Regions from separate parts of the Homo sapiens genome. Here region 1 is linked to region 2. The links are contacts of gene promoters, found by promoter capture Hi-C in human tissues and cell types (Jung and others, 2019). All regions are on one chromosome and are shown on one strand. Each heading gives the region's core, a stretch centred on a gene start or on the middle of the fragment in contact. The rest is flanking DNA. Distances are from core to core; before and after follow the strand shown.

Region 1 (3,842 bases), core at 799-3,298, 540 kb after region 2:
GTTTTTTCTATATTTCTGTGAAATACCTATATGTTCATAACAAATAAGATACTTGACAGAGTTACATATCAGACTACTAAGAAGAGGAGACCTCTGTGATTAATCTTAGATAGTTAGATAGTTCTGTGATCAAGAATACATACATATTTTATTAATTAGCATTATGGTAGTTATTAAGGCTATCCATAAATATTCCAATTCTCCTCCCAAGCACAAGAGTAGGATTGTATAAAGGGAATTAAAAAATAAAAATATAAACTTTCTCAACATAAGCTCTGTCACGTTTGAGACAGCTTTGTAAGCAATGATATCCGTCATTTAGTCCATCACTGAAGAACTGAGGACCTGGCATCCATCCTCTTGTGAAGGTTAAAAAAAAAAAAAAAAAAAAAGAACTGAGCGTCTTGGGTGCCCTTTAAAGTTCTTTTTTTTTTTGAGACAGAGTCACTCCATTGCCCAGACAGGAGTGCAGTGGCTCCATCTCGGCTCATTGCAACCTCCACCTCCTGGGTTCAAACAATTCTTGTGCTTCAGCCTCCTGAGTAGCTGGGACTACAGGAGTGCACCACCATGCCTGGCTAATTTTTTTTTTTTTTTTTTGGTATTTTTAGTAGAGATAGGGTTCCACCATGTTAGCCAGGCTGGTCTCAAACTCCTGGACTCAAGTGATCTGCCCACCTCAGCCTCCCGAAGTGCTGGGATTATAGGCATGAACTACTACACCTGACCTAAAGGTATTTTTTTAATATAAGCTGGGTTTTTTTTTTTTTTTTTTTTTTTTTTTTGAGACGAGGTCTCACCATGTTGCCCAGTCTGGTCTTGAACTCCTGGCCTCAAGCAATCTCCCACCTCAGCATCCCATCAAGATTTTCTTTTTTTTTTTTTTTTTCCTTTTTTTTTTGTTTAAGATGGAGTTTCACTCTTGTCGCCCAGGCTGGAGTGCAGTGGCACGATCTCAGCTCACTGCAACCTCCACCTCCTGGGTTCAAGTGATTCTCCTGCCTCAGCCTCCCGAGTAGCTGGGATTACAGGCACCCACCACCACACCTGGCTAATTTTTGTATTTTTAGCAGAGACGGGGTTTCACCATGTTGGTTAGGCTGGTCTCGAACTCCTGACCTCGTGATCCACCCTCCTCGGCCTGTCAAAGTGCTGGGATTACAGGCATGAGCCACTGCGCCCAGCCCAAGATTTTCTTAAAGTAGAGATGACTCCTTGTGTGAAAGATTTTTTAAAATTAGAAAACAAAAAGTCAGAAGGAGCCAAATCAGGACTGTAGGGTGGATGCCTAATGATTTCCCATAAAAACTCTTGCAAAATTGCCCTTGCTTAATGAGAGGAATGAGCAGGAGCCTTGTCATGGTGGAGAAGGACTCTCTGGTGAAGCTTTCTGGGGCATTTTTCTCCAAAAGTATTGGCTAACTTTCTCAAAACACTCTCCTAATAATCAGGTGTTATCATTCTTTGGCCCTCCAGAAAGTCAACAAGCAAAATGTCTTGAACATCCCTAAAAATTTTTGCCATGACCTTGACTCTTGACTGGTTCACTTTTGCTTTATGTAGACCACTTCCTCCTCTTGGTAGCCATCACTTTGATTGTGCTTTGTCTTCAGGATTGTACTGGTAAAGCCACGTTTCATCTCCTGTTACAATCCTTTGAGGGAATGCAGATCAGGTTCTCGATCTCACTTATTTAAAGTTTTCATTGAAAGCTCTGCTCTTGTCTGCAGCTAATCTGGGTGCAACAGCTTTGGCACCCATTGAATGGAAAGTCTACTGAACTTGAATTTTTTAGTCAGACTTACATAAGCTGAACCAATTGAGATGTCTATGATGTTGACTATTGTTTCTGCTGTTAATCATTGGTCCTCCTCAAATAGGGCATGAACAAGATTGATTTTTCCCTTACAAATTGATGTGGATGGTCTGCCCCTGTGGGCTTCATCTTCAACATCATCTCATCCCTTCTTAATATGAATTATCCACTTGTAACCTGCTGATTTCTTTGGGACGTTGTCCCCATAAACTTTTCAACAAGCATCAATGATTTCACCATTCTTCCACTTAAGCTTCACCATAAATTTGTGTTTGTTCTTGCTTCAGTTTTAGTAAAATTCATATTGCTCTGATAGGGGCTGTTTTCAAACTGATATCTTATCCTTAGTGCCTTGAACTAGATTCTGTTCAATCATGTTATAACTAGTCAGTACAAATTTATTTTGGTGGAAAAAATTTTGAAATCCATGCATATTTTTTTCATAATACACGTTTTCCATGAACTTTTTTGAAAACTCCCTATGTATTTTTTTCCTCTCTTGAATTTAGATGTGGTCCTGTGACATGCTTTGGCCAAGTAAGTAGGAACATCTAACCCTTGCTGAACTCCAGCCATGGTTATTATAAAACCACCTGTTGACATGGGGCCTCCATTAACCCAAGTCGCTGGGTGATTAGATTAAGCAGAGCCATCCTGCAGCCTGTGCTGGTCGTGTAGTGTGTGCAGGAGATAAACTATTAATATTGGCTGGGCGAGGTGGCTCACGCCTGTAATCCCAGCACTTTTTGAGGCCAAGGCAGGTGGATCACCTGAGGTTGGGAGTTCCAGACCAGCCTGACCAATATGGTGAAACCCCATCTCTACTAAAAATACAAAAATTAGCCAGGCATGGTGGCATGCATCTGTAATCCCAGCCACTCAGGAGGAGGCTGAGGCGGGAGAATTGCTTGAACCTGGGAGGCGAAGGTTGCAGTGAGCCGAGATTGTGCCACTGCACTCCAGCCTGAGTGACAGAGGGAGACCCTGTCTCAAAAAAAAAAAAAAATTAATACTGGGGGTCATTTTTTACTATAGCATAACCTACCCTATTCTGACTGATTAAAAACACTCTGGGTAAAAATTGAATGTGGTTCTTCCAAGTTCGTTGATTTTCTGTGTGTGTATATAATACTTATTTGAAAAACTTGGAGATATATTATCTTTTTAAAACAGCCTTAACTTATAATTCCCAGTGGAATTTATATCATAGCTTATTTTAATTATTGACATGGTGACTTAATGACTTTTAATAAATTTGTTGGTATGCAATTAAATCTGTTCTGAGCAATTTTTTACAACTCTGTTTACTTTCTTAAGATTGTAAATGTTTGCAGTCTACCTTGAAAAGCAACTTTGTGAAAAATGTTAGGTGCTTTAAAACTGATTTGCCCCACTTCATGTTTGTTTGATATAAAATGAGATACATGGCTGTATTTTAATTTATAGAAAAATAACTTCCAAAAAGCTGAGACTTTACATGCCAACTTTATTACTACTAAATAATTGTAACAAAATACTAATAACTCTAATAATCTCTGTGGACAGGTAATTGTAATGGAAGTATTGACTTCAGGTAATTGTATTGATACTGGTGGCTTGAGTTAATTGTTGAATCTGGCAGCTTGGGCTTCATTTGTAAACATCCTGAAATTCTGAGAGTCAAGGTGGCTTCTCTGATCACCATCATTCAGAAGACAAGATAAAATTCCTTTGTATTTGAAGGAGACAGTGTCCTATCTCATGTTAATACCGCTTGAGAAATCAAGTGTAAGACATCAAATGGGATTGTTTTCTTAGAGATTACATCCTGTGGGTTACTCCCCCAAAGCTAGCATTATTGTTTATTTTATAGCCAAATTTTTAAAATGTGTGTGTACTTCACCACAAATCTCTTGCTTCTAGTTGTCAAATTATTTTTTCTAGTTTTCATGTGCTTCTGAAATGCAGTTGTGCAAATGTACACACACACATGCTCACAGTCTGTGTGCAGGGCACACCCTTTGAGAGTCCCAATTTAGTGCTTTTA
Region 2 (3,677 bases), core at 15-2,514:
ACCAGGCCCACGGTGGTGCCATGGTTGGGCACACTCCGCGGGCTCCGCCCAATCTCCACCCCTAGGTCCAGGTCCCCCTAGGAGAGCTAGGAGCACATTTCCAGCCTGGAGCAGGAGCCCGGCACCGGAAAGTCAGAGCAGCGCACTGCGGCGCCCCAGCCACTGCGGAGCCCCTGGCCAACCGCAGTTACGTTCCATCTGTCGTATCTACATGGGAATACGGCGACAGGCACCCTATCCCCTCACGTCAGGGCTAGCAGTATGAGGTGGGGAAAGAGGAAACCTCGAGAGTTAAAAGCGAGGGAACTGAAAGTCCCCTTGAGGGGTGTCCCCCATGCCCCTTGTGGGACAAAGCCCCAATTCGCAGGCTACCCTCCAGAGCTCCAGCGGTCCGGTTCTCCCCATCAGCACCCTCTGCGCACACTGACCCGCGCGTCCCTCCGCAGCCTGACCGCCCGATCCGCCAGCCACCGGCGCGGGCAGCGAGGGGGTGTGTGCGCCAGATTTTCCGCGTGCCCCCCCGCCCCTCCAGCGGCTCCCTCGCCCTGCAGCTGCTGCTCCGGGCGCTGTCCGCGCTGGGCAGGCCGCCCCCGCGTCCCGCCGCGGCGGCCCGGGGCCCGTGCGCGCTCACCAGATGGCCATCCTGCTCTTGGGGTAGTCCAGCCGCTCCAGGCAGCCGAGGAAGTGCGGCAGCGTGTGCGCCGCGTTGCGGGCGAGGACCGCCACGAGCACCGTGGGGCTCTGCAGGGGCGACTCCGGGAAAACCACCGGCTCCTCTCCGTCGTCCTCCGAGTCCCGCTCGGCGACGAAGCGCGCTCGGCAGCCTTCGCGGAGCAGGGCTGAGGAGAGGAGCAGTAGCGACCAGGCGAGGGTGGCAGCAGGGCGCGCAGCCATGTTCCGGGCCGAGGCGGGCGGCGGGGAAGTCCTGGCGCGAGCGCCCGGCTGGGCTGCCTGAGGGCGGCGGCGGCTGCCGGGGAGCAAGGGGCTGCGAGGGGCGGCCGGGGGATGCGGCTTGCCGCGGCCGGCCGGCTCACACACTGGCCTCGGCGGCTGCGGTTCCCAGGACCCTCCCGCCGCCGCTGCACCGCCCAGGCCCCAGTGCGGGTGCGCAGCGTACCTGCAGCCGCTGGCGCTCCCCTGCGCCTCGGGCTCGCAGACAGTAGTGGCCGAGGGGCTGTGTGCCCTGAGTCCTGAGGAAAGTTCCTCTAGTCCAGGTTCCGCTCGTACAGCTGAGGTCTGTGGCCTTCCCTAGAGCCGCGAGTTGTGGCCCTGTCTGCCAATGAGCCTGTGAGTGTGTGTGTGTGTGTGTGTGTGTGTGTGTGTGTGTGTACATAACGGTACAACCCCAAGAAAATTTATTCTGCTTTTGCAAACCGCAGACTGAAGCCCTTCACAGTGATGCAATGTATCCAGTTTTCATAATGCACCTATTGACTGAGTAGAGTTCTAAAATGAAAAGTCTCCCCAACTATTCACGATTATGACAAACACTTGTTTAACCACCGCAAAGGCAGCATGTCGCATTTTCTTATATACTCAACTTCTGAAATTCATTCTTGACTGAGTAGACACCTAATAACACAAAGTTTGAAGACTTGGAGAATTTTGGAGCCAGATCAGACCCCGCAAAATAAAAGAAAGCCCTTGGGAGACACTGTCCTGAAGCCTCACTCTACTGTGAACCCAGTAAGCCTCCTCACAGGAGGGCTGTGAAAGAATAAATTCACTTAGCTGGTTTTCTTTTTCCGTAATAAGCCAATATGATAGAGTAACAAAGAGGGAAAATTCGCGCATGTTGGAGAGCAGAGAAGAGATAAGGAAGAAAAGAAGGGGTGAAGGAAGAACACAATTAGCACATAAAATGAAACTGCTGGCATACACTGCTAAAGGAGATTTACTTTTTTTTTTTTTTTTTTTTTGAGACAGGGCCTCACTCTGTTGCCGGGGCTGGAGTGCAGAGGCACGATCACAATTCACTGCAGCCTCGACCTCCTGGGCTCAAGCAATCCTCCCACCTCAGCCTCCCGAGTAGCTGGGACCACAGGTGTCCATCACCACGCCTAGCTAATTTTTTTTTTTTTTTTTTTTTTTGTAGAGACGGGTTTTCACCATTTTGCCCAGGCTGGTCTGGAACTCCTGGGCTCAAGTGATCTGCCCAACTCGGCCTCCCAAAGTGTTACGATTACAGGCATCAGCCACCATGCTCGGCTGGATATTTAGTTTTGAAGATATATTGTGTAGCCTTTGATAGATAAGTATGGAGGGTGTTTTGGTGCCAGTGCACATTCATGATCTCCAATCCCAACTCACCCTCAGGTCTGTCCCATAGTCTTTTTATTAGTTGTTATCAATCCTTCTCAGCAACTATTAGAAGTCTTCCCTACTGTCTTTTGAAGTATATCACCTCCTTCATCCAGCTCCCCCAACACCACTGTCTCCAACTAGCATCCCTACCAAGACCTTTCTTACTTGCAGGTGCCTCCTCACGACAGGGTCTTTGATCACAGACTAGAAAGGGAGAGGTCTCCCTTTCTAGCCCATGATTTTTCTCTATCATTCCACTCTCTACTGAATCTTCAACTGATCTCTATCAACTCCTTTCTCTCAAGCTAAATACTTGGTCAGTCTTCTCTTATCCGTTAAAAAAAAAAGAAAGAAAAGCTTTAAAAAAAAGTCCTGTGTCTTCTTCTAGTCATCCCTTTGCTTGACCAAGCTCCTTGGAAGAGAGATCTATACTTGTATTCTCCACTTCTTCATCTCCCATCTTTCCCACCACAGTGCAGTAAGGCGTCAGCCCTCCCCACTGTTCTGCAAAACCAACAGATGGCCTCAGCATTGGCAGATTCAGTAAACTCTTCCGTTCTCACCTTCCTGGACTTCGATTACATAATCTCCCATCCTAGATCTCCTCTGATACTACTTGTCTCTGAGCCAAGCCCCTTCACTGTGTGCCTCCCTATAGTGTGCTAGTCTTCCCACTCCATATGGTCTCCTGTGGTTATATCCTCAAAATCTATGTCTTCTGCTCTAATCTCTTCTCTAATCTTCATATTTTTTTATCGAATGGCCTACAGACATTTCCTTCCCCTCCATCCATTTTCAGGAATTGTTCCCACTTTCAAGGGGCTCACAGTCTTGTAGGGAAGACTGAGAGTTAAACATCTGTTAGAAGTACTGTAACAGATGTACCAGCTACAGTGAAGGGATAGAGGAAGATGTGGTCATTTCCACAAGGGAGGTAGTGATGGGACTGTTAGAAAGGTCCAGACAATCTCCATGTTGTTCTGTCTTTCTTGTTTCCCTTTCTTGAACTATGTCCCACTCATCTTTCAATACTAAAATCCGCACTCCTTAGCCAAACTTGGTTTGATAGTTATCATTTGTTCACTTTACTGCAAACAGAGGGAGTTTAAAGCTAGGCAACCACATTTCTGTCTTATTTTCCTTCTGTTACTGATATGGTCTGCCTATGTCCTCACCCAAATCTCACATCGAATTATAGCTCCCATAATCCCCACGTGTCGTGGGACGTAATTGAATCATGGGGGCAGGTTTTTCCCATGCTAGTCTCGTGATAGTGAATAAGCCTCACAAGATCTGATGGTTTTATAAAGGGCAGTTCCCCTGCACATGCTCCCTTGCCTGCCGCCATGTAAGGTGTGTCTTTGCTCCTCCTT

The links. Contacts are between HindIII fragments. The study calls those that stand out against the background at their distance.
Region 1: a contact is called between a fragment that was not itself captured here and the fragment with the promoter of COLGALT2 in region 2, in 1 of the 25 tissues and cell types used here (dorsolateral prefrontal cortex).

What each region holds. Positions count from the first base shown.
Region 1 is chr1:184,578,623-184,582,464 of GRCh38, forward strand. The region is part of intron 3 of C1orf21 (chromosome 1 open reading frame 21); the gene reads left to right. Among named protein-coding and RNA genes, the nearest start is that of EDEM3, 170 kb to the right of the region's middle. The HindIII fragment of the contact is 6,340 bases long and covers 1-3,842 here.
Region 2 is chr1:184,036,464-184,040,140 of GRCh38, forward strand. It overlaps COLGALT2 (collagen beta(1-O)galactosyltransferase 2), which reads right to left and starts at 1,265. Exons shown (of 12, transcript NM_015101.4): 1 at 632-1,265. The coding sequence starts at 894. RefSeq lists a silencer at 988-1,077. The HindIII fragment of the contact is 4,544 bases long and covers 1-3,604 here.